Linked DNA regions of Homo sapiens: regions 1, 2, 4, 5, 6 and 7 are each linked to region 3. Evidence: promoter capture Hi-C in 16 types of primary human blood cells and fetal thymus (Javierre and others, 2016). All regions are on one chromosome and are shown on one strand. The core of a region is centred on a gene start or on the middle of the fragment in contact, and the rest is flanking DNA. Distances in the headings are between cores, read along the strand shown. Region 1 overlaps TATDN2 (TatD DNase domain containing 2). Region 2 holds the start of GHRL (ghrelin and obestatin prepropeptide). Region 3 holds the start of TTLL3 (tubulin tyrosine ligase like 3). Region 4 overlaps IRAK2 (interleukin 1 receptor associated kinase 2). Region 5 holds the start of THUMPD3 (THUMP domain 3 tRNA guanosine methyltransferase). Region 6 overlaps IRAK2 (interleukin 1 receptor associated kinase 2). Region 7 overlaps THUMPD3 (THUMP domain 3 tRNA guanosine methyltransferase).

Region 1 (3,981 bases), core at 745-3,244, 450 kb after region 3:
TTTTTTTTTTTTTTTTTGTTGTTGGGACAGAGTCTTGCTCTGTTGCCCAGGCTGGAGTGCGATGGTGCAATCTTGGCTCACTGCAACCTCCACCTCCTGGGTTCAAGCAATTCTCCTGCCTCAGCCTCCTGAGTAGCTGGGATTACAGGTGTGCGCCACCAAACCGGCTAATTTTTGTATTTTTAGTAGATATGGGATTTCTCCATGTTGGCCAGGCTGGTCTCGAACTCCTGACCTCGTGATCCACCTGCCTTGGCCTCCCAAAGTGCCGGGATTACAGGCATGAGCCACTGTGCCAGGCCACATTCCTCCATCTTACTCGTCTCCACCCATCCTTTACTACTGCTCTGCAGGCAGCTTCTCTCATCTTTAGCTCTTTCTTCTAGTACTTACCCCATGTTTCTAAATAATCTTTACTGTTGATCAGTTTTTCAGTTTTAGATGTCTGAGGACTTCTTGCTTGGGCGATGAGAATTTAGTTCTCTATACCTCCTTCAGAAGCACCCACACCCAGGGACACATTAGCTTCCCCTTTCTGCAGCCTCCCTGTGTGGCTTGAATACCTTTTGGGTTAAGTCTGTGTAAGATTTGTTACTGCCATGTTCACAGCTGAGTCGCCTTGTATACTCTGATCACATTTTCTTTCTTGTAAAACTTCATTTTCCTTAAAGTTCATCATTACTTTGTTTTTCCTTTGGTTTTCCTGGTACCTTTCACTAATTAATCCCCAAACTGCGAGAGCTGTAAAATCCTTCTCAATACTGTCAAAATAAGGAATCTGTTTCTTTTTTTTCTCTCTTGGAGGTATACGTCCTCAGCCCTCTGTTGTCCTGCTCTGGTCTGGACTGCCTGCCGTCAGGCCAGCTGGCAGCTGTCTCTCTGGAGCCTCCTTCACATTTCTCCCGGATTGAGTCTTCTGCTACCTATACTCTGTGTCTTCTCATGTTCTTCTTCCTTGGTTTACTCTCACATTTTGGTGGAATACTTTTTCTAGTAGCTTCTTGAGAAAGGGTACATGGAGAAACTTTTTTTGGTAAACATGTGTCTGAGATTGCCTTTATTTTACCTTTAACCTTGATTACAAGCTTGGTTGGTTTTGGAATTCCAGGTTGGAAATTGTTTTGTTTGGGATTTTGAAGGCATTGCTCCTTTTCTTCTGGGCTTTTTTTTTTTTTTTTTTTTTTTTGAGGTGGAGTCTCGTTCTGTCTTGCCCAGGCTGGAGTGCACTGGTGTGATCTTGGCTCACTGCAGCCTCCACTTCCTGGGTTCAAGTGATTCTCCTGTCTCAGCCTCCCGAGTAGCTGGGATTACAGGCACACGCCACCACACCTGGCTAATTTTGTATTTTTGGTAGAGACAGAGTTTCATCATGTTGGCCAGGCTGGTCTCAAACTTCTGACCTGAGGTGATCCACCTGCCTAGGCTTCCCAAAGTACTGAGATTACAGGTGTAAGCCACTTCGCCTGGCCTCTTCTGGTTTTCTTGATGTCTGAAGCTATGCTGGTTCCTGAACCTTGGTATATGATTTTTTATTTTTTATTTTCTTTTGCTTTGAGACAGAGTTTTGCTCTGTCACCCAGGTTGGAGTCCAGTGGCGTGATCTCAGCTCACTGCAATCTTCACCTCCCAGGTTCAAGCGATTCTCCTGCCTCAGCCTTGTGAGTAGCTGGGATTACAGGCATGTGCCACCACACCCGGCTAATTTTTGTATTTTTAGTAGAGATGGGGTTTCACCATTTTGGTGAGGCTGGTGTCGAACTCCTGACCTCATGATCCGCCCGGCTCAGCCTCCCAAAGTGCTGGGATTACAGGTGTGAGCCACCGTGCCCAACCTGTATTTTTTTTTTTTTTCCCTCTGTGGAATCTTGTAGAATATATTTTGATCTCAGGGCTCTGAAATTTCATGGTGGTGGTGTCTACTTTGCTTAGCATGGGACATTCCCTTTCAATCTAGAAACCCTTGTACTTTAGCTGTGGGAAAAGTTCGTGAATTACTGTACTTCGCTGATGTTTTCTTTCCGTATTTTTCTTCTCTCTTTCTCTCTCTAGCTTCTCTACCTTCTTTCTCTTATTTGGATGTTGGATTTTTCAGGACTGGTCCTGTAATTTTATTGCCTTTCTCCCTTGTTTCTAGCCAATTTCTTGCTTTACTTTGTAGGATATTTCCTTTTCTTTATCTTCCAACCCAGCTGTTTATTTAGTTTTACTTTTCTACTGTCATGCTTTTTATTATCCAAGAGCTCTTTTGTTTTTTAATAACATCTCTGTTCTTGTTTCATCTTCTGTTATCTCTTTTAGGGAGTTCATGGTAGTTTTTTGGCTTGGTTTTAGTTTTCTTTAAGTTGCTTCTTTCCGTTTCTTTTGATCTCTTCTGTGTTAGAGGCTGCCTTCACATGTCTGGTAATCTTTGGTTGTCTGTTTATGATCAAGAATGGGAGGATTAAAAAGCTGTTTGGAAGCTCTGAGCGTAAAGACTTTGAGCTTTGCTTTGGGATGATCGGGAGAATATAACCCTCTTCCCCTTGCCATGTCACTGCTTTTAGGAAAGCCTCGAGACTGGTCACCTTGCCCAGAGGAGTGTTTTTCAGCCTGCTTAGGAGGAAAGGTGGCTGGGAGCTGGGTAGCGAAAGGGGCGGCTGCGGGGGCGGCGTCAGCATTCACTTAATCTTTGTCTTTTTGGTGCAGTACCAGTGCCCTCCACTGAGCTGACCAGGCCTTATTCTAGAGATCCTCTTGTTTTACTGTCTTCAAACAACTCACCTTCTCTGAGTATGAGGAGGGAATCTGGGATCTAACTCATTGGAAACCAGATTTCACCCTGTCCTCCTCCTTTTAATGTTCTTCTGTAACTCCAGTTCCTCCAGTTCCCAAGGTGCCCAGTACCGCGAGTGCCTGCTCTGTTCTAAGCTTTCCTGGTGCCTAGCTTAGGTCTCAGCCTTCTCTTGGTCTGCCAGTGAGGTGTTATTTGGCCATCTGCTTTCTAGCCTCCAGTGCGTGATCACTGTAGTCTCTTGTTCTTCCTGTTCTGGTGTTTTTGTTATTGTAGAGGGGTTTTATTTGTTTTTTGTTTGGTTTTTAGATTCTTTAGTTTTAGTGAGGTTTCAGGAAAGAGTAAAATAAGTCGAATTTGTTCAGTACATCCTTAGCCTAGAAAAGTTCTGGGAAAATTTCTTGATTATTTGATTTCTTGTCTGTTTCTTCTTTTTCTGGACCATCTATTTTATGCTTGGTCTTTCGGATGGAAATTCCAATTTTCTTTTCTTCCCAGTGAATCCTTTTTAAAAAATTTTTCTGGATGGTTTCTTCAACTTTATCTTCTTTTTTTTTTTTTGAGATAGAGTCTCACTCTGCCACCCAGGCTGGAGTGCAATGGCTTGGTCTTGGTTCACTGCAACCCCTGCCTCCCAGGTTCAAGCGATTCTCCCGCCTCAGACCCCTGAATTGCTGGGACTATAGGCGCATGCCACCATGCCTGTCTAATTTTTGTATTTTTAGAAGGGACGGGGTTTCATTTTGGCCAGGCTGGTCTCGAACTCCTGACCTCAGGTGATCTATCCGCCTCGGCCTCCCAAAGTGCTGGGATTACAGGCGTGAGCCACCGCGCCTGGCTCAAGTTTATCTTCTAACGTTTATGTTGATTTTTTTTTTTTGGTCTTTTTTTTTTTTTTCCTGTGCGTGGTTTTTTTTTTTTTTTATTGCTGCCAATTTTTTTTTCTTTTTTGTCTTTTTGAGACAGAGTCTCACTCTGTGGCCCAGGCTGAAATACAGTGGTGTGATCTCAGCTCACTGCCACCTCTGCCTCCTGGGTTCAAGCAATTCTCCTGTTTCAGCCTCCTGAGCAGCTGGGATTACAGGCATGGACCACCATGCCTGGCTAATTTTTGTATGTTTAGCAGAGACAGGATTTCACCATGCTGGTCAGGCTGGTCTTGAACTCCTGACCTCAGGTGATCCACCTGCCTCGGCCTCCCAAAGTGCTAG
Region 2 (4,209 bases), core at 395-2,894, 480 kb after region 3:
GCCAGTGGCTATGCTTCAGTCATTTCTGCCAGGTGTGACATGACTGCCTGGCCTGGCGTTTTTTCACATAGCAGCTTGCCTTGCCTCCCTCCAGCAGCTTTGGTCCCTATTTTAGCGGATGCCTCTTCTGAGAGGGAAGTGCATTGGACCTGGAGGTGGAAGATCTACGCTTAGCACGGGCCTGGCTCCTCTCTCATTGACTGGCCTTACGCCGACCACAAATAATTCCCCTTACCCAGAGTCTTTGAGGGTGAAATGAGGCGATGGGGGGAAAGTGGCTTCTAACCTGTGAAACACCCTGCAGATGACAATGGTTTCATACCAGGCCCATAGGACTTCCCAGCATAGGCCAAGGCCACTGCCTCATTTCCCTCGGCCCCAGGAATTTCTTCCTTTCTGGAGTGCTTCATCCAACTGGGTGCCCAGGCAGGAACCCCTAAGGGCCAATGAGTTGTCTGCAGAGAAGTTCTAGCAGTTCAGGAGAGGAGCTCACCTTAGGCTGGGGCTTGCGGCAGGGATGTTAGCAAAGGCTCCAGGAAAGAGGCCTGTGGTGAACTCGGGGCAGGGCTTTGGAGGGAGGGCTTTGCGGCAAGCAGAGGGGAGGTGAAGGCGTGGGTAGAGTACATCAGGGCAGCATGGAGAAGGCTGGGTGGCTTGGGGGAGGGTGGCGATGGGGTCATAACAAAAACATAAGAAGGTGGTTTGGGGCCAGGTGATGGATGCCTTGGGAACTGCTAGCCCAAGAAGTTTGGGCTTTTTTTGCAGGAGGGCAGCCACTGAGGATTCTTGAGGAGAGAGAGACCATAGAATGAATGAAAGAGTTGGAAAGACTTTAAAGCTCTGGGAGGCTGAATCCTTTATTTCGCTGGAAGAAAAACTGAATGCCAAGAGGGCCTCACTTTCCCCAAAGCTATACAGCCATCAGGGGCAATGCTGGGATTCCCCCATGGATCTCTTGACTCCTAATACAGTGCTCTTTCTGATATGCCATCTGGCTCCATAATGAACATTGTGTTCCAGGAAAATCAGTCTGCGCTGAACAGGATGGAATTGGGGCAGGACGTCCAGTGAGGAGGACATTGAGGCAGTAGAGCAGTTGATTGCCGAATGACCACCTACCCTGACTTAAAAGATCAACCTCAGGGAGGATTGGAGCTTTCTAGAGTCTCTTGGGACAGCAGAAGCACAGGCCGGGTTGGACTGAATCTTTAAGTGGACATGAGGGACAAAGTACCTCCTGTTGGTAAACATCTCACCACCAACCCACTGTGGTGGCTAAAATCCCACCTTTAGTCCCAGCAACATATGAGCATGTCACCAGGAGGTCTTCACAGGCCTGTCTGCCACCTGAGTGTAGACATCTTTTGGCCCTGGAGCCCAGAGAGGCTGAATGTGGAGAGGGTGGAGAGAGGTCTGTAGTCCTCAGAGAAGACTTGCAGCTTTTTCAGAGCCACCAACCCATAAAAAAAAAAATCCCCAAACAGAAAAATCCTAACTGTGGTGACCAGGTACCTCCTGAGACATGAAGCCTCCACTTACCTGGACCCTGGAGGCCTCTCCGGGCACAGCTGCCAATGTTGATCTTAGATAAGACCACCAGCAAGTAAACATCCACTGTGCAAAGCTGTGTTATCTTTGGGGAACTGAAATGTCCCCTGGGAGTTGGAAACTCCCCTAGCCACATACCACAGAGTTGAGGAAGGAAGAGCTGATGGACGGAAGAACCATGGCGGGAGGAGTCATCCGGAAGCTACCTCGCTGCCCTGTCAGTTACGGAACAGAGGAGAGATGCCGGCTGGAGGACACAGCAAATTTGAACCAAGAGGAGCTTGGAGGAAGCCCGAGCGACCTGGAGGGGACTGGCTGACCTTCCTCATTCTTTTCAAGTGTGAATAATAACCAAGCCCAGTTTGGCAACTCCTTGAGGGTGAGGACGAAGCCCCATTCTCCTTTTTGGAACTTGGTGGGGCTCAGGAAGCAGGTTCTCTCCAGTCGGTGGCTTTCCTTTCTGTTGCGGGTCTCTTGAGGGCCTGCCTTCATGAAGGCACATGAGTGACTCATCATTTGTGAATTAATTGCTATATGTGAAGGGCATCTGAGAACAAATTATCTTCATAGACTTTTCATTATAATTTTATTTGTACTGATAATTAGTTGGTTTAGCAAGCTCTTTTTTCATAGATTTGGCTAAACTTCAGTCTGAAAGAGGCAAATTCTGGGGTTCTAGAAAGAGATTTTATTCTTTGATATAGGGCTATTTGGTGGGGTTGCTTTTTGTCCTAGTTGTAGCTTTTATAATTTCGAGATTCACATTTTGCAATAGAAATATACAGGCATACCTTGGAGGCATTACAGCTTTGGTCCCAGACCACAATGAAGCAAGTCACACGAATTTTGTTGGTTTCCCAGTAAATATAAAACGTATGCTGATACCATACTATAGTCTAAGTGTGCAACAGCATATGTCTAAATGAATATACATATATATTTTTTTGAGACAGGTTCTTGCTCTGTCACCCAGGCTGGAGTGCAGTGGCACTATCATGGCTCACTGCAGCCTCCACCTCCCTGGACTAAGATGATCCTCCCACCTCAGGCTCCCAAGTAGCTGGGACTACAGGTCACACCACCACACCCAGTTAATTTTTGTATTTTTTGTAGAGACAGAGTCTTGACATGTTGCCTAGGCTGGTCTTGAACTCCTGGCTTAAGTGATCTGCCTGACTTTGCCTCCCAAAGTGCTGGGATTACAGATGTGTAGTCTTTGAAATCCAGTGTGTGTTCTTACAGTGCATTTCAATTTGGACTAGCCATGTTTCAAATGCTCAGCAGCCACATGCGGCTCATTCTAGATAGGCGGCCATCGCTCTTAAATCCTCCCTGACCTTAGCCATGCTCTCTCATCCCTCCTCTTCGCCAAGCTCTGCCTCTCTCACTGGGGCTTCCCTAGCCTCCGGCCATCTTGGGGCCAAAGCTCTAACACTTTGCCTCTCTCGTGTCTTCTGTTCCCCTCCAGTGGCTTCTGCTTTCTGCCTTAAAATACACCCAGGTTCCTAATCCTGAAAACGTCTGTTGTGCACCGATCCCACCCTCCCCTCGTGTTACCATCTCCATTTCCTTCCCCTTTCCTTGTGTCCTCTTCTTTGCTGTGTCCTGGCCCCTCAAAACTTGACCTTGCCTCTCATCCCCACTGCTGTACTGAAACTGTTGTCTCAGCGTTGCTGATCATCCAGCCTTTTAGTCTATGGACCGCTAAGAGCCATAGGACGACCTCAGGGTGGGACGTGGCTTGGAGGGCCATCTCGTCTCAATTTCCAGATACAGACCTGTGTTGGGTTGTGTTGGATTCATGAGGAAAGCTTCATAAGTTTTATGCACGTTTATAAGACTCCATCCTTGGATTCTGATCCAGTAGCTCTGGCGTGGGGGCTTTAGAATCTGTTTCAAGTATCTCAGGTAATTTTGATTATAAATTACCAAGTATCCCAGGTAAATTTTGATTATAAATGCTTGCTTCCAGCAGAAAATATAAACATATGGAAGATGAAATCTTTCTCTCTGAATAACCCAATTCAGTTTCCACTCGTGAATATCTTATATAACCGTAGTACATTTATCAAAATTAAAACACCAGTGTTAGCACATTACTGTTAATCTCCAGACTATTTGTAAGTCACCAATTTTTCCATTGTCCCATCTGTTCTTCCTTTTCTTTCTCTTGTCATAACCACTTTTAGAGGGTTTTGAATGGTATCATTTTGTCTTCACCGTCGGCTTATTAGCTATACTGTACTGTTCTATTCTTTGAGTGGTTGCTCTAGGATTTACAAATATGACTTCAACATATTGCAGAATACCTTCAACAACTACGATATCCTTTCACAGATAGTGTAAGAACTGCACCACAGAATGCTTTCATTTCCCCACTTCTATTCTTTGTGATATTATTGTCACACATTTTATTTTTACTTAAGGTATGAGCCCCACAATGCATGTTAAATAGCCAAAGTTTTTAGACAGATTAAAGAAATTAAGAAAAAGTCTTATGAACTCAGGTATTTACTATCGTGTTGCTCCTTATTCCTTAGTGCAGATCCATTTTTCTTTTCTTTTTTATTTGAGACAGGGTCTCACTGTGTCACCTGTGGTTGAATGCAATGGCGTGATCTCAACTCACTGCAGCCTCCACCTTCTGGGCTCAACTGATCC
Region 3 (4,227 bases), core at 179-2,678:
CCAGTGACTGACAAAGCTGGGCTCTTACCAGGACACTCTTCGACTCTGCCTGCGGGGGCACTGCTAGAGTTTGCCTCTCAAACTGTCCCTGTGTGGTCCTTCTGTGACTGGCAGGCAACCTGAGTGATAACAGGTGTTTAAGAGACAGGCTTTGGAGTCAGACCTGGGTTCCAGTGCTGCCTCTGCTCTGTGATTTGAGGCAAATTGTTTAACATCTTGGAGCCTTACCTCCCCTGTGACTTTTGAGGATAATATTTTGCCAGTGCTTCCAAAAAGGTTGCTTACAGTCTTAGCCTGGGGGCCAGGCATAACTGTTGTGAACTATTACATTTCTTTCGCAGTTGACTCAAATGATTGTTTTTCCATTTCCAGTTTCTGGGGAGGGTGTGCTCTGCACCTTCTTGTTACCCCCATATGCTGCCCTCGCTAAGGACCTTACCCTAGGCCCATCTGCCAGGCCCAGCAGGTCTGATCTGGCCTCACCAGGCTCCAGCCACCCTGGCTGTCTTGTAGTTCGCACAGAGGTTCTTACCCTTCTCAGGGCTGTTGCTGGGACTGTCCCTTCCCTGAAGTGCAGTTCCTCCCCTTTCCCTGGTGACTCCTGACTCCTGGCATTTACACCTTCAGCTTAAATGCGCCACTTTATCTAAAATGCGCCCCCTTCCTGGTTTCACCTCTGCTTGTTCATTGCCCTTATTATACCTGTAAACTATTCTCTTCCTTTGTTACTTGCTTTTTATTCCCCTCACACTGGGCTTTTAGTAAGCTCCATGAGGTCAGGGGCCATTTGTTAGCGCCTATAAATACTGTGGAATCACTCAAACCCTAGGGCCGGTGGCACCAGGAAGTACTGGATAAGGAACCGCAACACTAACTAACTGGGGCTCAGTGCTCTCTTCCGCCTTCAGTGCCCTGCTCATCAAGGGTCTGGGTGAGGCCCCAGGTCATAAGGAAGCCCTCGCTCGACTGCCCCGGGGCCCATCGCAGCCCCCAACCAGCCCCGAGCGGTCTGATGGTGCCCAGGGAATGGTTTCCAAGGCAATAGCAAACGGGGCGGGGCTTGGAACGGAGGACAAGGCTCGAGCCTAGGCAGGAACTTCCCGGGAGAGGAGGCGGCGACGCGGAGGGGCGCGGGATCAGGGGCCCTGGGAGGGCGAGCGCGGCGAGGGGCGCATGCAGGGCCCCGACGCGCCACTGCTCCTGAGCGCGAGGGAGCTGGGGCCCGGGCGCCGGGGCTCGGCCTCCTGGTACCGCCAGGAGGGCGGCGCGGTGTGCAACTGGCTGCGGAAGCCGCAGCCGCTCGAGCCACGCACCAGTTTCCCCTCGGCGCGCCGCTCCGAGTTCCGTCCACCCAGGAGGCTGCCATGGGCCGGCCCTGCCTCCGCCCAGTCCGAGGAGGGTCACGCAGGCGGCAGATGCCAGGCGGGCAGCCCCGCCCCTGCGCGCCGCCTCAGCGGCGCCTTCAAGACGCTGGTCCCAGGCACCCACGCCCAGGGCGCCTCGGATACCCACCCCCTCGGCCCCCCGCACACCCCGGTCCTCGACCCCTCTCCGCAGGATGGTGAGGCCCGTGCGGCCCGCTCGCTCTGGCCTACAGCGGCTGCGAGGACGACAAGACGCTGGGGTGGAGGGACTGGGGGTCGGGAGAAGAGCGGCTGAGGGTGGGCATCTGGATGAAGGCAGGAGGAAGAAAAGAGGCGTGGCTATGGGCGGCCAGAAAAGATCCTAGGCCGAGACCCTAGGCCCAGCCTCAGTGTACCCCGCCCCTATTCCGCATCTTTCTGCAGGTTTCCCGGTCCTCTGGCGAGGATCCTCCAAGGCGTCTCACATGAACCGGCTCAGAAACGCCAAAATCTACGTGGAGAGAGCTGTCAAGGTCAGAGGAGGGGCAGGGGCGCTTAGAAAGGGCCCTGGGAGCGGCTCAGCCTGTCTCCCTGCGCTGTTTTCTTATATCCTTAAAAAACAAAAGCAAAAGAAAAAACAATAGCAAAAATCCTCAACCACCACACCCATCTTCAACTACCTCCCCGTTTACCCCTTCAGCACCAAACTTCTGGGCTCCCTCCACTCTGGTTCCCTGCGATGTCCCACTCTAATCAAGGTGCCTGGTGAGTTCCAGGGAGCCAAACCCAGCAGTGCCTTTCGGTCTTGATCTCGGTTGGGCACCCTGTATCTTTCGACACCGCTGCCCCACACACCCTTCCTCTTGGCTGTCTGACTGCACGCTCCTAGTTTTCCTTTCTCCCTCTTTGGCTGCTGCTTTTCAGCGGCCTTTAAAGGTTCCTCAGCCATTAGTGGCCCCCTGGCCCCTTCCCCAGGTCTGTCTCCTTTGGCTGTGTCCTTGGCTGAGTCCAGTCAGTGTGCTGCACCCTCTCCGTGCCCCTTCCAGCCCAGCCTCGAACTCCACATCCCGTAGATCTAGCCCCTACCTGTCATCTACACCCAGAAAACTTAACAAGCATTTCAAATTCATGTCCCAAACCAGACTTTGATCTTCCTGCCCAAACCTGTCGTCCTCCCCAGTCTCCAGTCTTTCCCATCTCTCAGTTCCTCACGCCAGAAATCTCATCTTTCTGTTTCTTCACCCACAGGTCTAATTCCATCAGCAAAACCACTTGTCATCTCCACCTCCAAAACGATTCTCAACTCTAGCACCTTCTCCCGTCTGTGTTGTAACCACCTTCATTTTAGTAATTGTGATTTCTCTCCTAGGCAAACTATGACAGCCTCCTAGCTGGTCTACCTCCATCCTGTCCCCTCATCTTTTTGTAATACAGCAGCAAGCCAAGCTTAGAAAGATTCCCTCAGTTAGCCTTTTTTGCTCATGACACTCTTAGTATGAAATCCAAGTCCGTTCCAAGGCCTGCAGGGCCTTCCACAGTCTGGCCACTGCCTACCTCCTCTGGGGCTTTCCCCATCATTTTCCATGTTCCACTCACTCTGGTCTCCCTTCAGTTCCTTCTGACCTCTCTCCAGCCTCAAGGCCTTTGCACATGCATTCCCCTCTGCCTGAACCGCCATTTCCCAGCTCTGTACATTCATGGCTTCCTTTCAACCTTCCCTGACCATGTATTTCTAAGTAGTTTCTCTGGATCCCATTAAGTATGCAGTTTCTGGAGCCAAACTGCCAGGATGTAAATCCCTGCTCTTTTGCTTAACCACTATGGGGCCTCAGGCACCCTGCTTAATTTCTCTATGCCTCTGTTTCATAGCCCGTAAAATGGAGATAACAGTATCTAATAAAAATGCATAGTATTGGCCAGACGCGGTGGCTTACACCTGTAATCCCAGCATTTTGGGAGGCCAAGTCAGGAGGATCACTTGAGGCCAGGAGTTGGAGACCAGCCTGGCCAACACAGTGAAGCCCAGTCTCTACCAAAAAATATAAAAATTATTTGGGCACCAGATGAGGTGGCTGACGCCTGTAATTTCAGCACTTTGGGAGGCCAAGGCGGGCCTTGGCCTGAGGCCAGGAGTTCAAGACCAGCGTGGCCAATATGGTGAAACCCTGTCTCTACTAAAAATACAAAAATTAGCCGGGCGCAGTGGCACACGCCTGTACTCCCAGCTACTGGGGAGGCTGAGGCAGGAGAATCGCTCGAACCCGGGAGGTGGAGGTTGCAGTGAGCCAAGATTGTGCCACTCCAGCCTGGGCAACAGAGCAAGACTCCGTCTCAAAAAAAAAAAATTATCTGGGCGTGGTGGCATACACCTGTAATCCCAGGTACTCAAGGAGACTGAGGCAAGAGAATCGCTTGAACCCAGGAGGAAGAGGGTGCAGTGAGCCGAGATTGTGCCACTACACTTCAGCCTGGGCAACAGAGTGAGACCCTGTCTCAAACAAAACAAAATAAAAACACACAGTATTGTTAGTAATGCATGTAAGTGCTCAGCATGTAGTAGGTCCTCAATAAATATTAGCCATTGCTATTATCATTATTACCATGCATATTTATTTCTCTACTTATTTATAGTCTGTTTATTTCTCCTAATGGAATATAAAAATTTCCTGATGGCAGAGTCCATAACTGTCTGGTTCACCTTTATATCCCCTATGTCTGGCACTTATGCAATACTTATTGAAGAAGTATCCTTCTCTCACATTGCAGCAGAAGAAGATCTTTACAATCCAAGGCTGCTACCCGGTGATCCGGTGTCTCTTGCGCCGGAGGGGCTGGGTGGAGAAGAAGATGGTCCATCGCTCAGGCCCCACCCTGCTGCCACCCC
Region 4 (4,106 bases), core at 1,420-3,919, 400 kb after region 3:
AGGCTAGAGTGCAGTGGTGTGATCATGGCTCAATATAGCCTTGACCTCCTGGGCACAAGTGATCCTCATCCTCCCAAGTAGAGGGGACCACAGGTGTACACCACCATACCTGGCTATTAAAAAAAAATCTTTTGTAGGACTGAGCGCAGTGGCTCATGCCTGTAATCCCAGCACTTTGGGAAGCCAAGGTGGGCAGATCACGAGTTCAGGAGATCGAGACCATCCTGGCTAACACAGTGAAACCCCATCTCTACTAAAAATACAAAAAATTAGCTGGGTGTGGTGGCGGGCGCCTGTAGTCCCAGCTACTCGGGAGGCTGAGGCAGGAGAATGGTGTGAACCCGGGAGGCGGAGCTTGCAGTGAGCCGAGATTGTGCCACTGCACTCCAGCCTGGGCAACAGAGGGAGACTCCATCTCAAAAAAAAAAAAGAAAAAAAATCTTTTGTAGAAACGGGATCTTGTCATGTTGCCCAAGCTGATCTCAAACTCCTGGGCTGAAGCAATCCTCCTGCCTCAGCCTCCCAAAGTGCTGGTATTACAGATGTGAAGTATTTAGAACAGTGCCTGGCATGATGTTTGCTAACTCATGTACCTAGATGTTAACTTACTCCAGCCCCGGGCCCTTCTACTGCCCCACCTCTGCATGGGCTGGTTCCACTGCCCCATATCTGCTTGTTGAAAACGTTTCTCCATATTTCAAGCCCAGGTCAGGTGCCACTTCCTCTGTGAACCCTCCTCATCTCCCAGCCTGTTATGGTCTCTCCTGCCTCTGACCTCGCTCTCCCGTGGGATGTATCCTCGGAGGATAGTTACTGCATCCCTGCCCTGGTGGAGGTTTCTGGAAGGCAGGCTTGGTAGCTAGTTCACCTCTGTGTCTTTTTCTGCTCTTTGAGTAGGAGGTGAGATAGTGCAGGGCCTAGAAGTCAAACAGATTTCCGTCTGAATTTCGGCTCTACCATCTACTGGCTGGGTGGTCCTGAGCACTGCGTCTACCTCCGGTGTCTCCGTGTCTCCACTTGCCAACTGGGATGATAAACAGGCCCCAGGTTGTAGGGGAGTCAGAGGCTTATCCTGAGGTGATGCTTGAGGAGTGTGTTGGTTGGCACATGGTGGGTGTCAGGAATTGGCAGCAACAAGTGTTTGGGGAGTGAACAGGAGACTGGCATAGTCTGAGGACTAGACCAGGATCCCTCCTGTCTTCCTCCCCGAGGCTGCATCCTGACCCATAGTCCCTCCTTTCCAGGGTCCTCTCCAGCCAGAGCCCACCAGCCGGCCTTTCTCCAGCCTCCTGAAGAAGATGCCCCTCATTCCTTGAGAAGCGACCTCCCCACTTCGTCTGATTCAAAGGTAAATCCACCCCTCGGCTGCAGCCCCCAAGCCATGTCTCCCAGCGTGTAGTTCCCTCTCAAAAATGCAATTTCTCTACCCCTTGAGACCAGTTTAAGGGTGGAGAGGAGAAAGGAAATTGCCATCAAATTACCCCAAGCTTCTAAGACTGTAAGTAGAGGAGGTCAATAATAGCGGGGAGAGGGAGGGAGGGCACTTCAGTGAATATACTTCTTGTTTTTTAATTTGTTATTATTATTATTTTTGAGACAGAGTCTCGCTCTGCCACCCAGGCTGGAGTGCAGTGGCACGATCTCGGGTCACTGCAACCTCCGCTTCCCGGGTTCAAGTGATTCTCCTGCCTCAGCCTCCCAAGTAGCTGGGATTACAGGTGCATGTCACCATGCTCGGCTAATTTTTTGTATTTTTAGTAGAGACGGGGTCTCACCATGTTGGCCAGCTTGGTCTCGAACTCCTGACGTCAGGTGATCCACCTGCCTCCGCCTCCCAAAGTGCTTGGATTACAGGCATGAGCCACTGCACCCGGCCATTATTTTCTTTTATTATTTTATTTTATTTTCGACCTGTGGTCTCAGCTACTTGGGAGGCTGAGGCGGGAGGATGGCTTCAGCCCAGGAGGCAGAAGTTGCAGTGAGCTGTGATCCTACCACCACATTCCACCCTGGGTGACAGAGTGAGACCCTGTCTCCAAAAATGTATGACCATATTGGTACGAAGATAAATAAAATCCAAGCAGGATTAAAAATGAGGACATTTCTTTGACTCTAAAAGTCCATTTATTTTCTTCTGATTTTAAAATAAATTAAAATGTTCTGATGGCCCCTAAAAGTGTTGTGAGCCTAGACCCTTTGCATCCAGTGCCTGGGGGAGAAGCCAGCTTTGCATGAGTGTGGTTAATGAAGCTCTTCCATGTCCCAGGTGTGGTGTCACATGCCTGTAGTCCTGGCTATTTGGGAGGCTGAGGTGGGAGGATCGCTTGAGCCCAGGAGTTGGAGACCAGCCTAGGCAACACAGGGAGGCCCCATCTCTAAATTAATAAATAGATCAACCTTCCATGAAGGATAAACCCAACACTTTGGGAGGTTGGTATGGGAGGTTCACTTGAGCCCAGTACTTTGAGACCAACCTGGGCAACAGTGTGAGATCCTGTGTCTACAAAAAAGTTTTTTTTGTTTTTGTGTTTTTTTTGAGGAGTCTCGCTCCATTGCCCAGGCTGGAGTGCAGTGGCACGATCTTGGTCACTGTAACCTCTGCCTCCCAGGTTCAAGCTATTCTCCTGCCTCAGCCTCCTGAGTAGCTGGGATTACATGCACATGCCAGCATGTTTGGCTAATTTTTTTTTGTATTTTTAGTGGAGACAGGGTTTCGCCATGTTGGCCAGGCTGGTCTTGAACTCCTGGCCTCATGTGATCCGCCCACCTCAGCATCCCAAAGTGCTGGGATTACAGGCATGAGCCACCGTGCCTGGCCAAAAAGTTTTTTTGAGACAAAGTCTCCCTCTGTTGCCCAGGCTGTCTCGACTCACTGAAACCTCTGGTTCCCCAGTTTAAGCGATTCTCCTGCCTCAGCCTCCTGAGTATCCGGGATTATAGGTGTGTGCCACCACGCCTGGCTAATTTTTGTATTTTTAGTAGAGACACGGTTTCACCATATTGCCCAGGCTGGTCTTGAACTCCTGGCCTCAGAGGATCCGCCTGCCTTGGCCTCCCACATATGGTGAGATTACAAGCAGTGAATCACTGTGCCTGGCCTCGCCAAAAAAAAAAGTTTAAAAAATAAGCCAGGCGTGGTGGCACACACCTGTAGTCCCAGCTACTTGGGGGCGCTGAGATGAAAGGATCCCTTGAGCCTGGGAGGTTGAGGCTGCGGTGAGCTGACATCATGCCATTGCACTCCAGCCTTGGTGTCAAAGTGAGACCCTGTCTCAAAAAGAAATCAAAACTATGTGTGTGGCATGATACCAGTTTTGTTAAATAAATCCTAGTATATCTAATTGGCCGGAAATACACTAACTTTAATAGCAGTTAAATGGATAATGGGGTTATGGATACTAATTTTCAAAAACTGTTAAGAGCATATGTAACTTAAAAAAATTGAAATTTAGGCCGGGCGCGGTGGCTCGTGCCTGTAATCCCAGCACTTTGGGAGGCCAAGTCGGGCGGATCACGAGGTCAGGAGATGGAGACCATCCTGGCTAACACGGTGAGGCCTCATCTCTACTAAAAAAATTACAAAAAATTAGCCGGACAGGGTGGTGGGTGCCTGTAGTCCCAGCTGCTCGGGAGACTGAGGAAGGAGAATGGCGTGAACCTGGGAGGCGGAGCTTGCAGTGAGCCGAGATCACACCACTGCACTCCAGCCTGGGTGACAGTACGAGACTCTGTCTCAAAAAAAAAAAAAAAATTACGTACATGTGTTTTAAAGAGAGAAGTTATTAAAAACGGAAACAGAACTTCTTTTTATAGGCTTATATACACATGCAGTCTCTGGAATTCTGTTTAAAGCAAGCTTGTCTTACTTGCCCATGGTTGTGTGCAGCCCAGGATGGCTTTGAATGTGGCCCAACACAAATTTGTAAAGTTTCTTAAAACATTATGAGTTTTTTTTGCAATTTTTTTTTTAAAGCTCATCAGCTATCATTAGTATTAGTGTATTTTATGTGTGGCCCAAGACAATTCTTCTTCCAGTGTGGTCCAGGGAAGTCAAAAATTGGACACCCCTGGTTTGGTTATATGAACCTGTATCCTACTTCCCAGGA
Region 5 (4,058 bases), core at 322-2,821, 450 kb before region 3:
TTTCACAATAAGTTAACTTTTGTCAACTGAAAAATAAAAATAAAATTCTATGCCCCCCAACTGACTGAACAGGCCCTCTCTTGGCCAAGGAGACCCTAGAAAAAACTTGGAAGCTGAGTTCCTACTCATGACAGGATGGGAAGTCGGACACACCTCTTTATAACCCCTCCCTCTATAATCGCCATTAGATTTTCTTTCCTAAGGGTTAAACAGAAACCAGCCCTTTTGAAAGACTCACTCCACCAGCCTGATGCTGACCCTCCCATTTGCAGTTTCAATAGAACAACCGACTAGCATTCCTTCCTGATAAGAGATCACCCACCATCCAGGGAGTGGTTCTGGCCAGTCGACAGAGGACGTGCAGTGAGGGTTTTCACATCCCCTGCTTCACCTTTTGAAGTCAAGCGGTAGAAAACTCTACCCTTGGATCATGCTAAGGCCACCATTTTTTAAACATGGGATCCACAGAGAGGCATGAAGCTCAACTGCACATGCACAAATTGCTCCTTTCATAAATATTCGTGACCCCTCTTACAGTTTATTTAACATGTATATTTGGCCACTGTGTTTAGCATAAATCCCTGTCTTATTCTTCCAACCCTGGAAGTGCCTGTTTTTGGCTTCTGACTGGAAGCTAGGCTTCCCAGTCTGTCAAAATGGCTACCATGCAGGTTCAACTCTTTTTTTTTTTTTTTTTTTTTTTTTTTGAGATGATGTCTTGCTCCCAGACTGGAGTGCAGTGGCACAATCTTGGCTCTCTGCAACCTCTGCCTCCTGGGTAAGCAACTCTTCTGCTTCATCTTCCCAAGTAGCTAGGACTACAGGTGCAGGCCACCACATCCAGCTAACTTTTGTATTTTTAGTAGAGATGGAGTTTCACCATGTTGGCCAGCCTGGCCTCAAACTCCTGACCTCAAGTGATCCACCCGCCTCAGCCTCCCAAAGTGCTGGGATTACAGGCATGAGCCACTGTGCCCGGCCAGGTTCAACCCTTTATGAGAAATAAAGTTCATCTGATTGGGCACAGTGGCTCATGCCTGTAATCCCAGCACTTTAGGAGGGCTAGACAGAAGAATCACTTGAACCCAGATGTTCGAGACCAGCTTAGGCAACATAGTGAGCCCCACTATTTCTATTTTTTTTAAACTAAAGAAAAATATGAAGTAAACAGTGCTAAAATAGTGATGGCAATACAGAAATCAGGAACTAGTGGCATGACATTTTGAGAAAGATATTTAAATAAGCTGGAGAGACTCGGTGTCTCCAGCTTTAAAACAGAAATCAGTCTCTGCCACTTCATAGGTGCTAGAACAAAAGAGACTTGTTCCAAATGAGATGACGCATGTGAAGCGCTTACCCAGTGCTCGGCAAGGGGAAGCACTCTCTAAACGTTAGCAAATACCATGGTAGGACACAAGGCCCCTGACTCTCCGCTTTCAGCTTACTGAAGATCCTCAAAACCAACAGCACACAGCTTCCAGCGCATGCTCCTTTCCCCAAGACCTTGTGGGGGAACCCGCCGCCAGCGCGGAGCCACCGTGACTCGTAGCCTGACTTCCGTTTCCGGGGGCGGCTTCCGGCGGCGTGACCTGACCGCAAGAGGCCAATGGAGTGTGGGAGCTGAAAGGGTCTTCGCTGGCGGCCGGTAACTGGCGGCGGTTGGGAACGGCCGAGTGTGGCTCTTCTGGTGTTTCAGCTTGGGGAGAGAGGGGTGGCCTTCCTCTTGCAGTTGAGGCCGGCGCCGAGCCGGACTTCAGGCGGATCTCGTGGCGGAGCCCATCTTGCTCCCTCTCCCAGGCCTTTACCCGCTCCCTAGGATTCCCGGGCCCTGTAGGTGGGAGTTGGGAGACGTGAGTTCTCTTTCATTCTGCGCCTCTCATTGGCTCTCTGACCTTGTGCGGAACGCGTCCTTTAGCTGACCTCAGCTGCATTTTTTAGAAGATGGAGATTGTATTCACAGTGACTGTCAGCTTTTTAACGGCGGGAACTGACGTAGTGTTAAACACTGTCGTGTATCGCTGGCACAGCACAAGGACATTATAGGTATTCTGTACTCAATTAAGTTATTTTGAGTCACAGACCTTTTGAAAATCTCGTGTAAGCTATGGCCCCTCCACCTCTCTAATACTTCCCCCGGCCCCCACCCCAAGCACACACAAAAGCTTATGCATAGGAAATTTGTTTTACTATTTCGGATTACTTCCAAGATCTCTCTCCTGATGCCCATCTATGGATCCCAGAGTCTGGCAAGTAGTAGGCGTTTGAACATTTGTAATCATTAGATAGTAAGTATTCAGTTAACCATTTTTATTTTTAATTTTTTCTTTTTTTTTTTTTTTTTTTTTGAGACAGGGCCTCACTGTGTCACCCAGGCTGGAGTGCAGTCCTCCCACCTCAGCCTCCCAAGTAGCTGGACTCCAGGCGCCCACCACCACGCCCAGCTATTTTTTGTGTTTTTGGTAGAGATGAGATTTTGCCATCTTACGCAGATTGGTCTCGAACTCTTGGCCTCAAGCAATCTACTCACCTCAGCTCCCTAAAGTGCTGGGATTACAGGCATGAGCCAGTGTGCCCAGCCCAGTTAATCATTTTTAAATGCATGAAATGCTATTTCACAGGAGGGAAGAAGATAGATAGCCTATTAATAAGTTTTAATTATTGGCCTAACCAGGTACTACTCTCACTTGTCTCCTAACGACTCTAGGAAAGAGGTATTACTAATTACTTAATTACATTTGAAGGTTTGGGAGAATTAATTTGCCATAAGTCATTCAACCTATGATGGTGGAGGCAAGAATTCAAACCTGTATCTATCTGAAACTCCAAAAGCCCCATATTATTATTATTATTATTATTTATTTTATTTATTTATTTATTTTTTTGAGACAGAGTCTTGTTCTGTTACCCCAGCCGGAGTGCAGTGGCATGATCTCAGCTCACTGCAATCTCCACCTCCCGGATTCAAGCAATTCTCCTCCCTCAGCCTCCCAAGTAGCTGGGATTACAGGCTCCCACCACCACACCTGGCTAATGTTTGTATTTTTAGTAGAGACGGGGTTTCACCATGTGGGCCAGGCTGGTCTTGAACTCCTGACCTCAGGCAATCTGCCCGCCTCGGCCTCCCAAAGTGCTGGGATTACAGGTGTGAGCCACCACGCCCAGCCAAGCCCTATATTCTTAACTAACCATGTTCTTAACATCTAGATGCAGAAATGGATTTGAATGTGATCTGCAGTTTCTGTCGTAGTTATGAAATGGCTTTTGTCAACATGGGTTACCCCAAAGCAAACATTGCATGCTATGGAAATACTTCTTGTCTCTTTTTCTCCCATGGTATCTGTATTGCTTCTTTAATAATAACATCATGTTTTACAGCCTGCACTCTGTGCCCATGTTTATTCAACCCTTTTTACTTTGGTGACTGTTTATCAGATGTGTTGCCTTGTTCTTCCTGCCCTCCAGAGCCCATGTTTTTAATTATAACTGAAATATGAGATGATAATATTTGGGCTTTATTTCTTTTTCTTTTAAAGGACAGTACTGCTTTTAAAGAGACAGTGTTAGGGATCTTGGAAGCACAGCCAACATGTGTGACATTGAAGAAGCCACTAACCAACTCCTAGATGTGAACCTTCATGAGAACCAGAAGTCTGTACAAGTGACAGAAAGTGACCTCGGAAGTGAATCTGAGCTTCTAGTCACTATTGGAGCCACTGTACCTACTGGCTTTGAGCAAACAGCTGCAGATGAAGTCAGAGAGAAACTTGGGTCATCATGCAAAATCAGCAGAGACCGTGGCAAGATATATTTTGTCATTTCAGTGGAAAGTCTGGCACAGGTTTGAATGGAGCAATATTTAAAATAGTTTTCTAAGTTGATCATTTTATGGTTACTTTTCATTTTATAGACCCTTCTGGAATCCTTTCTGATTTTCATTGCTCTGCCCCAAATCAGGTGATTTTAAAGTTACTGCATTTTCTATTGAGTACTGATTTGTAATTTTGACTGTAGTTTCAGTATCCCTTAGGACCAAAAGTGTTTCAGATTTTTGGAGGGGG
Region 6 (4,105 bases), core at 1,537-4,036, 380 kb after region 3:
ACAAAATGAATGAATGAATGAATGAGAAAGAATGAGTCATTTCAGCAGCAGGTGGAGTACAAGTTCAGTGGAGAACCAGGGATCGCACAATTAGGAAGGCAGGCTGTGCTCTCAGGTTTGCCTCATTTCAGGTCTAGCTTGAGTTGGGAGTGTGTGTGTGTGTGTGTGTGTGTGTGTGTGTGTGTGTTGTGTGTTGTGTGTGACTGTGTATGGCCTGGAGGGCCAAACCCAGGGATTAGGAGGGAAAGGAAAAGAGAGGGCGCGGAAAGCTGTGTTTGTCCCTGATAGAGCCAGCTGGCACGAGGGTGCTTTAGTTATAGCTGAATCACTTTTGTTTGTTCTGGAAGGGATCTATTCTGGCCACATGAGTCAGCCTAAGAACAAATTACTGTGTAGTTTGACGGGCGTGAAGGGTTGGGGGGAATTTCCAGAGTGTGCTCACCCAGGAAAGACCTTGTTGCCAGCTCTGAGTCCCCTCTGCTCCAACAGCTCCTGGATTTGCCACCGTGTGAAATGTTCTCAGGCAGCTAGTGTGACGGCCCAGGCCCCGTCAGCCAAAGGCCCAGCACCCATAAACATCCTTTAGTCCTTTCTCCTGAAGGAACTGGGCCATAAACAAGCACATAATAAATAAATCTGCATTCTAGGCTTCGCTTTCTTCAGATATAAGACAACTACCTTATACTTGGTAGCAATTATCCCCCAGAGCTGTTACCTGAATTAAATAGGCCACAGATATGGGCAAGAACTTAGGAAAAAAAGCCTGACCTAGAGTTAGAGTGGTCATTATAATAACAGTAGTAGGAGGCCAAGGCGGACGGATCACCTGAGGTCAGGAGTTCGAGACCAGCCTGGCCAATATGGCAAAACCCCGTCTCTACTAAAAATACAAAAATTAGCCGGGCGTGATGGTGTCTGCCTGTAATCCCAGCTACTCGGGAGGGTGAGGTAGGACAATCGCTTGAACCCAGGAGGCAGAAGTTGTAATGAGCAGAGATCGTGCCACTGTACTCCAGCCTGGGCAACAGAGCGAGACTATAGCAAATGATGGTAGCTTAGATCTGCTGGGTGTTAATTTTTTTATCCTCATGGCTGGTCTCGGGTCGGGGGTCCACTTCCACATCTCATTTGTCGGATGAGGAAGCCAAGGCTTAGGAGGATCCCCCTGCTGGTGAGCCTGACTGCAGGACACACTCCAGACTGCGGGAGTTCATTTGCCTTCCGTGGCATCAGTGATTCATGCTCATTAGGAAGAGCACAGGCATTCCGAAAACAAATCAGAGAGAAAAAGAAATCATGCCTGGCAACCAGCTCTGGTGAACCATGACAGGGGCACAGAGAAGCGCTTCTGCCCCTCCCCCATTTCCTCCTTGTATCTGGGACTCAGCCCTCATCACTGTGGGTTCTCAGCCTCAGCAAGGCAGCTTTCACGGATATCCAGATTCCAGGCTGGGTGCAGTGGCTCACACCTGTAATCCCAGAACTTTGGGAGGCCAAGGCAGGTAGATTGCTTGAGCCCAGGAGTTTGAGATCAGCTTGCGCAATATGGCAAAACCCTGTCTCTACCAAAAAAAAACAAAAACAAAAACAAAAACAAAATTAGCCTGGCGTGGTGGCGTGCTCCTGTGGTCTCAGCTACTTGGGAGGCTGAGGTGGGAGGATTGCTTGAACTTGGGAGGTAGAGGCTGCAGTGAGCTATGGTTGCACCAGTGCACTCTAGCCTGGGTCACAGAGCAAGACTCTGCCTCAAAAACAAAAACAAAAAATCCAGACTCTGTCTGAGAACTGCCGTGTCAACCTTCTGGTGCCTGTGGCCACCTAAGCTATAGATTAGCTGTTCCTTCCGTCACCTGCGTCCCCTTCCTATCCCTGGGGGTCCCAGCAGGGAGAACCCTGGGCTGCCCACCTCCAGTGTGTGACTGAGGCTGGCTGCCAATGGCGTGGGCACAGGCCCCCACCTCCCCTGCTGCTGGGCTCCTATGTTACTTTGCTCTCATGGCCACTGTACCTCTCGGGACTGTGCACCAAGTTGCTGCCCACCTAGAATCGGTTTCCATTAGAGTGTTTAAAATGTTAAAAATAGCCTTCCACCCTAAATGCTTCCTTCGGAGGCCCGAGTTGGGAATCAGAGGTTCTTTTCTATCTGCACCTTTCTGGCAGAACTGAAGGAGGGTGGCTGTTTGCACAGTGTTGTGGGCCCCTGCCCTGGGCCAGCCACTTCACATTTGTCATCATGGAGCCCTGGGACGGCCCTGGGAGGTGTGGGGTTATTATTCTGATTCCACAGGAGAGGCGCATGAAGCTCAGAGGGTTAGGAGGTCTGTGCCTGGGCGTGAAGCTGGAATCGCAGAGCTTGGGTCTGGCTCAAGCCAGAGCCGACGCTTCCCCACGCTTACTCTTGTGATCCTAGTTCTACTCTTTGATCACAGTCTGTGTTTTTGGATCTCATGATCCTGCAGAATCAACTTTATGTGTGGAATTCTCTTGAGAATTTAATCCTGGGAGGAAAGAGTGCTGTCTTGGAAGCCTGAGGCTGCCCCTGTCTATCTGTGATAAGAAGTCCGTGAGCAGCTCACTCCTGAGCCTTGGCCTTGGCAGATAGGAAGCTCAGTGCGAGAGTTAAAGCTTGTCACAGCCCTTTCTTGTAGGCATTTGGCCTCCTTTGCCTCATCCTGCCTTTGGTGTTCTATTTTTATTTCACTAGCTCTCTGGTGTGCCAGCCTGAATGAGTGGGCGTTGCGTCTTTCTAGCTAGCAGGGAGCAGGTTTGGAGGGATGAGGACAGAGGCCATTTTCTCCATCTTCATGTTTGGACAGTGGGACAGGCATGCATGGGCCTGCCTGTCCACCCAGCTCAGACCATGCCGGCAGCTCCAGGGTGGAGATGAGGGCGGTTCATGTTTATACGCACCATTTATTGCTTGCATTTTAAAGACATCTAAAAACTCAAAGCTTGAGAAGATGGGGGTTTCACAGGAAACCAGAACTTCTTGTTGGGGCTGACATGGGGCTCTGTTGGCTTACATCCGTGGCTGGTGTGACCTGGTGCCTCTTGTGTGGGAGGGTGGATGTTAGCCCCAAGTGTGCTGACAGGTCTGGTCACAGGTAGCCCTGCCGACACCGCCCCTCCCCATCTGTTCCTCACTCCTGCTCACTTCCAAATGCCCTGTGGTGCCAGGTGGGGCCACCGCATGTCACTGCAGAAGGAACAAGAAAAAGAAAGAGAAAAGCTGGACTCTCTTTAGGATGAAAACATAATGACATTTTTTATCTTCCCCACGGGTGGAGCCCACAGAGGTCGGCCACAAATGGGTTGGTGGCCTTGATGTTCCTGCCAAATGTGTTTTGACAGAGAGGCAAAGATTTGTGCTGAACAAAACATTACCCTGAATAGGACACTGGACTGGGAGCAGTGGCTCAGGCCTGTAATCCCAGCACTTTGGGAGGACAAGGTGGGAGGATCACTGGGGCCTAGGAGTTTGAGCCCAGGCTGGGCAACATAGTGAGATGCTGTCTCTACACAAAATTAAAAATTAGCTGGGCGTGGTGTTGCCTGTAATCCCAGCGGCATGGGAGGCTAAGAGAGGAGGATAGCTTGAGCTCAGGAGTTTGAGGCTGCAGTGAGCTGTGATCACACCACTGCATAGCCTGGGTGACAGAGCAACACCCTGTCTCAAAAAAAAAAAAAAGGAACAGGACACTGAAGTTAAGTAAGGCTGTAAGTATCACCCTCATCCCCGTTTTACTGTGATGAGAACAATGAGGCTCAGCCAGGCAGGCCTCCGACAAGGAGAAGGTGCCTCATTTGCTGGGATCATGGGCGGTTCTGGGTGTAGGTGAGACCTTTAGGGAGCATTTTATACTGTTGCGGGCCTGGCCTCTGCAGGAGGTCACTGTTGGGAAGTGACTTCAGCGAGCCCAGCCGGCCCTGAGCCAGGGGAGCCACTGCTGCCCTTTTGACACAGATGTCACAAGGATGACAAGCCTTTCCAGGAGCATAAGCCCCACTTGAGGCAGTTTGAGGAGGGAGGGTGGAGGGAGAGAGGCAGTCTCTCCCTGCCAGAGAGGGGAGGCTGGGAAAGATGAGGACTGGGAGTGGCGGGGGG
Region 7 (4,137 bases), core at 1,289-3,788, 430 kb before region 3:
GCTCCGAGTAAAAATAAAGGCCGAAAAAAATTAAAACATGAAGTTTGAGCCATTTCCATGTAAGAGTAGACATGCAGATGTCAATGTAGAAAAACCTAAGCCGATATATGATCAAAATGAATAAAATTATGAATAAATTGACAAGGTATATATAAAGATTTGTTCACCAAAGTATAAAATACTTGATCTAGAATAATTTTTTTTTTTAATTTAGAAGTGTTATGCTATAAAACCCAATTCTTTCCAATGCTGAAAATCCAAATAGGTTTAGGAAAAAAAAAAAAGAATATTTGGGAATCGGAATCACTGAGAGCCTTCCTCAAACTCTAGGTCCCCTCTACATCCCCACCCACCCAAAATTCTGGGATACTTCAACTTCCCTTTTGTTTGATGTCATCGTAGGATTGTAGACAGGGTATGTTATCACCCTCAAGTGTCTGGGCAAAAGAAAAAGTTATGAAACACTGCACTCATGGATGAGAAGTATGTTACTGTTCACAAAGGAACACAAAGGTGTTTGCTACTCACCCCTAAGCAGAGGCAGACCTTTCCCGGCTTTCGTGTCAGAAACCTTCTGTTAATCTGCATAGAACATTGTTCAGGCCTAGGGTCACGTCACCTCATTCCACAAATGACATGTGACAGCTTGGTATTTATGTTCTGCTGACAGGTTTTTTATTTATAATTACAAAATCCTTCCAGTGATATGGTGGTTACCATTCAAAAGCCTATCATACAAAGGAAATTGCATTTTACTATTATTTTTTTGACCTGGGGTCTTGCTCTGTCAGCCAGGCTGGAGTGCAGTGGTGTAATCTCAGCTCCCTGCAACCTCTGCCTCCCTGTCTTAAGCCATTCTCCCACCTCAGCCTCTCGAGTAGCTGAGACTCAGGTGCACACCATCACACCCAGCTGATTTTTGTGTTTTTGTAGAGATGGGCTTTCACCATGTTCCCAGGCTGGTCTCAAACTCCTGGGCTCAAGAAATCCTCCTGCCTCAGCTTCCCAAAGTGCTGGGATTTCAGGTGTGAGCCACCATGCCCGGCCGGAAATAGCATTTTATTTTGCAATTTTCAAATATATCAGATTATGTAAACTCCCACAACCACAAATCTCAAATATTTTCAAACCGCATTAACTTAGAATTTAGTGTGCCAGACACTGCTGGATGAGGAACTGAATAAAATACTAGACCTGACCTCAGAGAGCTCCCAGGTTAGTTGAGAGGCATAAAGGGGAAGAAATAATTAACCGTGGGACAAGTGCAGTGGCAGAGGTACGTACATACAAAGTGTTTTTGGGAGGGGCACATAAGACTGCTTGGAGAGTTAAGGTTGATGTTGAAAGGGCATGAGGTTTGAGCTGGGTCTTAAGAGATGGGTAGAGGTTCAGCAAGCAGAGAAAGAATAAGAGGGCATTTTCAGCCAGGGAAATAGCACAGTTGACAACATGCAATGTTTTGCCACTCTAGAAAAGCACTGGATTTTCTTTGTTTGTTGACAATTTAATCATATTTTACAGTTTGCTACTTTTGTTTTAACATACACTCTTATCTTTTAGGGGGCCACTGAATGGTCTGACTGTTTCCATATTGCTGGTGATAATAATCCACTGGCTGTGAATAGAGCAGCAAATAACATTGCATCTTTATTGACCAAGAGCCAAATTAAAGAAGGGTAAAAATTTAAAAGATTTCTTAGCATCTTTTAGAGTTAGAGAATCACTTTTTATATTGACTTTATGAATTAAAACTCCCAGTGCATTGTGACGTCATTGTAACCAAAATGAATATACTATGAGACTCCATTTACATTTTTAAAGTTTATTGAAAATAAGTTATATTTTTAAAATATTATTTTAGCGATAATTTCCCCACCATATGCAATTTTTCATTTGTCTTATTCATATGTCTTTTCCCCTACATATTGGAAGAATATTTTATAGACTCATTTTAATTTCACAAAATTTTAAACAGTATATTTTTACATAGGCTTCTTTTTTGCTTTGGGTACAGGGTCTCATTTTGTCACCCAGGCTGGAGTGCAGTGACATGATCATGGCTCACTGTAGCCTCAACCTACTGAGCTCAAGCAATCCTCCTGCCTTGGCCTCCCTAGTAGCTAGGAATACAGGCATGTGCCACCATGCCCAGCTAATTTTTTAAAATCTTCGTAGAGATGGGGGTCTTGCTGTTTTGTCCAGGCTGGTGTCAAACTCCTGGCCTCAAGAGATTCTGCCGCTTCAGCCTTCCAAATTGCTGGGATTAGAGACGAGTCACCACACCTGGACCATAGTCTTTAAAGTCACTACATAAATTCCATCGTATAGAAATACTGCAGTTTATATAGCCTCGCCTCTATTTTATTACTAAGTCATTGGTTATATATTTCATTGTCTCTCTGATCTAATTTTTTAGGACAGTGCTTCTCAAACATTAATGTACATGTGAATCACCTAGGAGTACTGTTAACACAGATCTGATTTAGTAGTTTGGGATGGGACCTAAGAGTCTGCATTTTCCAGGAAACTCCAGGACAATGCTGATGCTGCTGGTCTATGTATCAACATTAAATCCTTTTACGTGTATTAAGACAAGTAGTTGGAAGGCTTCAATTTTCTTAAATACTGATTTATTGTGATGAATTAATTTTGAATGGTTGTTTCATATTTATTGAGGGTTTTTTTTAATGAGCCTAGTATATGGCCAGTCTTTTTTTTTTTTAATTAAAACTGATAAACATTTAAACAAACGTACCTTTCTAGCTTCTGAATATTTTATCTTGTTTGTACCTACACTGTCTGTTCAACCCGTACTTTTTTTTTTTTTTTTTTTTTTTTTTTTTTTTTTTTTTTTTGAGACGGAGTCTCACTCTGTCGCCCAGGCTGGAGTGCAGTGGCTTGATCTCGGCTCACTGCAAGCTCCGCCTCCCGGGTTCACGCCATTCTCCTGCCTCAGCCTCCCAAGTAGCTGGGACTACAGGCACCCGCCACCATGCCCGGCTTATTTTTTTTTTGTATTTTTAGTAGAGACGGGTTTTCACCATGTTAGCCAGGATGGTCTCAATCTCCTGACCTCATGATCTGCCCACCTTGGCCTCCCAAAGTGCTGGGATTACAGGCATGAGCCACTGTGCCCGGCCTCAACCTGTACATTTCTATCCATTTTACTTTGGTTTTTAATATTTTTTGCCTTTTGTTTTGTGCAGTTATTGGTATGCGGTTATAATACATATTTTATGTGTACTTTTAAAAATTATGTAATGATTGCTTTTATTGCATTTTTTTCTTAAATTCTTCATTAAATGTCAATTAAATCCTTAATTTCTGCTGATAACCTTTGACTTATCTTCAGTTCTTAGCCTGTGCATTATTTTGTTTCTTAAACCAGTTGCTTTGCCTTAATGAGGAGGATTTAAATCCTTTGTATTTATTATTATTCATTCTGTCTTCTGTCATCTATATTTTTTATCTTAACTTTTTTCTTAGTCTTGTTTTATATAGCATGGCACATATTTTCCTTTTGGTTTTTCATCTTGAAACAATTACCTATATATTTGCCAATTTTACTATCTGTTTTTCTTTTAGGCCTCCTGTTATTACTAGTTTTACAAACTTTATTCTTCAGATACATCACCCCATTATCTATTCTTTAGTATTGTTTTTCTCCAGTGTATGTTTTATCAGCAACTTAAATTTTTGTATCATCGGTTATGTAATTTACTGCTTCAGCATTGTTTTTAAAGTTGTCTTTTGCAGTTCTCTGCATTACAATCATGTTTTCAGTTTGTTTCCCTTTTTTCTGAGACGGGGGTCTTGCTCTGTCACCCAGGCTGGAGTAAAGCGGCACAATCCTAGCTCACTGCATCTTTCAACTCCTGGACTCAAGTGATCCTCCCACCTCAGCCTCCTGAGTAGCTGGGACTATAGGTGTGTGCCATCATGCCCTGCTAACTTCTTAAAAAAGTATTTTAGAGACAAGGTCTCACAGTGTTGCTCAGCTGGTCTCAAATTCCTGGAGTCCAGTGATCCTCCCACCTCAGCCCCTGAAAGTGCTGATTATAGGCACAAGCTACCATGCCCAGCCTGACCTATTTTTTACCTTTGTGCCATTTCTTAAATTTTGAATAGGTTGATATT

The links. Contacts are between HindIII fragments. The CHiCAGO score rates a contact against its expected background, and 5 or more counts as called.
Region 1: a fragment that was not itself captured here is called in contact with the fragment with the promoter of TTLL3 in region 3 in 13 of 17 cell types (activated CD4 T cells, total CD8 T cells, naive CD4 T cells and 10 more); the score reaches 10.4 in activated CD4 T cells.
Region 2: the fragment with the promoter of GHRL here is called in contact with the fragment with the promoter of TTLL3 in region 3 in 10 of 17 cell types (activated CD4 T cells, erythroblasts, naive CD4 T cells and 7 more); the score reaches 10.3 in activated CD4 T cells.
Region 4: a contact is called between a fragment that was not itself captured here and the fragment with the promoter of TTLL3 in region 3, in 2 of 17 cell types (monocytes and neutrophils). The highest score is 6.6, in monocytes.
Region 5: a contact is called between the fragment with the promoter of THUMPD3 here and the fragment with the promoter of TTLL3 in region 3, in 6 of 17 cell types (total B cells, naive CD4 T cells, fetal thymus and 3 more). The highest score is 10.2, in total B cells.
Region 6: a contact is called between a fragment that was not itself captured here and the fragment with the promoter of TTLL3 in region 3, in 4 of 17 cell types (total CD8 T cells, erythroblasts, naive CD8 T cells and 1 more). The highest score is 7.9, in total CD8 T cells.
Region 7: a fragment that was not itself captured here is called in contact with the fragment with the promoter of TTLL3 in region 3 in 1 of 17 cell types (neutrophils); the score reaches 7.1 in neutrophils.

The regions. Positions count from the first base shown.
Region 1 is chr3:10,261,366-10,265,346 of GRCh38, forward strand. All of the region lies in intron 3 of TATDN2 (TatD DNase domain containing 2), which reads left to right. Among named protein-coding and RNA genes, the nearest start is that of TATDN2, 15 kb to the left of the region's middle. RefSeq lists a silencer at 2,570-2,759. The HindIII fragment of the contact is 1,822 bases long and covers 1,084-2,905 here.
Region 2 is chr3:10,291,303-10,295,511 of GRCh38, forward strand. GHRL (ghrelin and obestatin prepropeptide) reads right to left here and starts at 1,645. Exons shown (of 6, transcript NM_016362.5): 1 at 1,540-1,645; 2 at 1-149. It overlaps GHRLOS (ghrelin opposite strand/antisense RNA), which reads left to right. Exons shown (of 6, transcript NR_073568.1): 6 at 766-2,147. RefSeq lists enhancers at 1,403-1,472, 1,483-1,732, 1,543-1,837. The HindIII fragment of the contact is 7,186 bases long and covers 1-3,357 here.
Region 3 is chr3:9,808,834-9,813,060 of GRCh38, forward strand. TTLL3 (tubulin tyrosine ligase like 3) reads left to right here and starts at 1,429. Exons shown (of 14, transcript NM_001387446.1): 1 at 1,429-1,561; 2 at 1,788-1,876; 3 at 4,110-4,227. The coding sequence starts at 1,829. It overlaps ARPC4-TTLL3 (ARPC4-TTLL3 readthrough), which reads left to right. Exons shown (of 12, transcript NM_001198793.1): 5 at 4,110-4,227. RefSeq lists an enhancer at 501-650 and a silencer at 1,131-1,610. The HindIII fragment of the contact is 3,571 bases long and covers 1-2,787 here.
Region 4 is chr3:10,208,345-10,212,450 of GRCh38, forward strand. It overlaps IRAK2 (interleukin 1 receptor associated kinase 2), which reads left to right. Exons shown (of 13, transcript NM_001570.4): 4 at 1,245-1,348. Among named protein-coding and RNA genes, the nearest start is that of TATDN2, 38 kb to the right of the region's middle. The HindIII fragment of the contact is 2,369 bases long and covers 1,486-3,854 here.
Region 5 is chr3:9,361,483-9,365,540 of GRCh38, forward strand. It overlaps THUMPD3 (THUMP domain 3 tRNA guanosine methyltransferase), which reads left to right and starts at 1,572. Exons shown (of 10, transcript NM_001114092.2): 1 at 1,572-1,645; 2 at 3,534-3,838. The coding sequence starts at 3,587. It also overlaps a transcript of SRGAP3 not described here. RefSeq lists enhancers at 1,302-1,511, 1,732-1,791, 1,862-1,941, 1,962-2,021. The HindIII fragment of the contact is 4,632 bases long and covers 1-2,160 here.
Region 6 is chr3:10,191,875-10,195,979 of GRCh38, forward strand. The region is part of intron 2 of IRAK2 (interleukin 1 receptor associated kinase 2); the gene reads left to right. Among named protein-coding and RNA genes, the nearest start is that of IRAK2, 29 kb to the left of the region's middle. RefSeq lists an enhancer at 308-617. The HindIII fragment of the contact is 326 bases long and covers 2,624-2,949 here.
Region 7 is chr3:9,378,943-9,383,079 of GRCh38, forward strand. It overlaps THUMPD3 (THUMP domain 3 tRNA guanosine methyltransferase), which reads left to right. Exons shown (of 10, transcript NM_001114092.2): 7 at 1,561-1,676. Among named protein-coding and RNA genes, the nearest start is that of THUMPD3-AS1, 16 kb to the right of the region's middle. The HindIII fragment of the contact is 6,287 bases long and covers 1-4,137 here.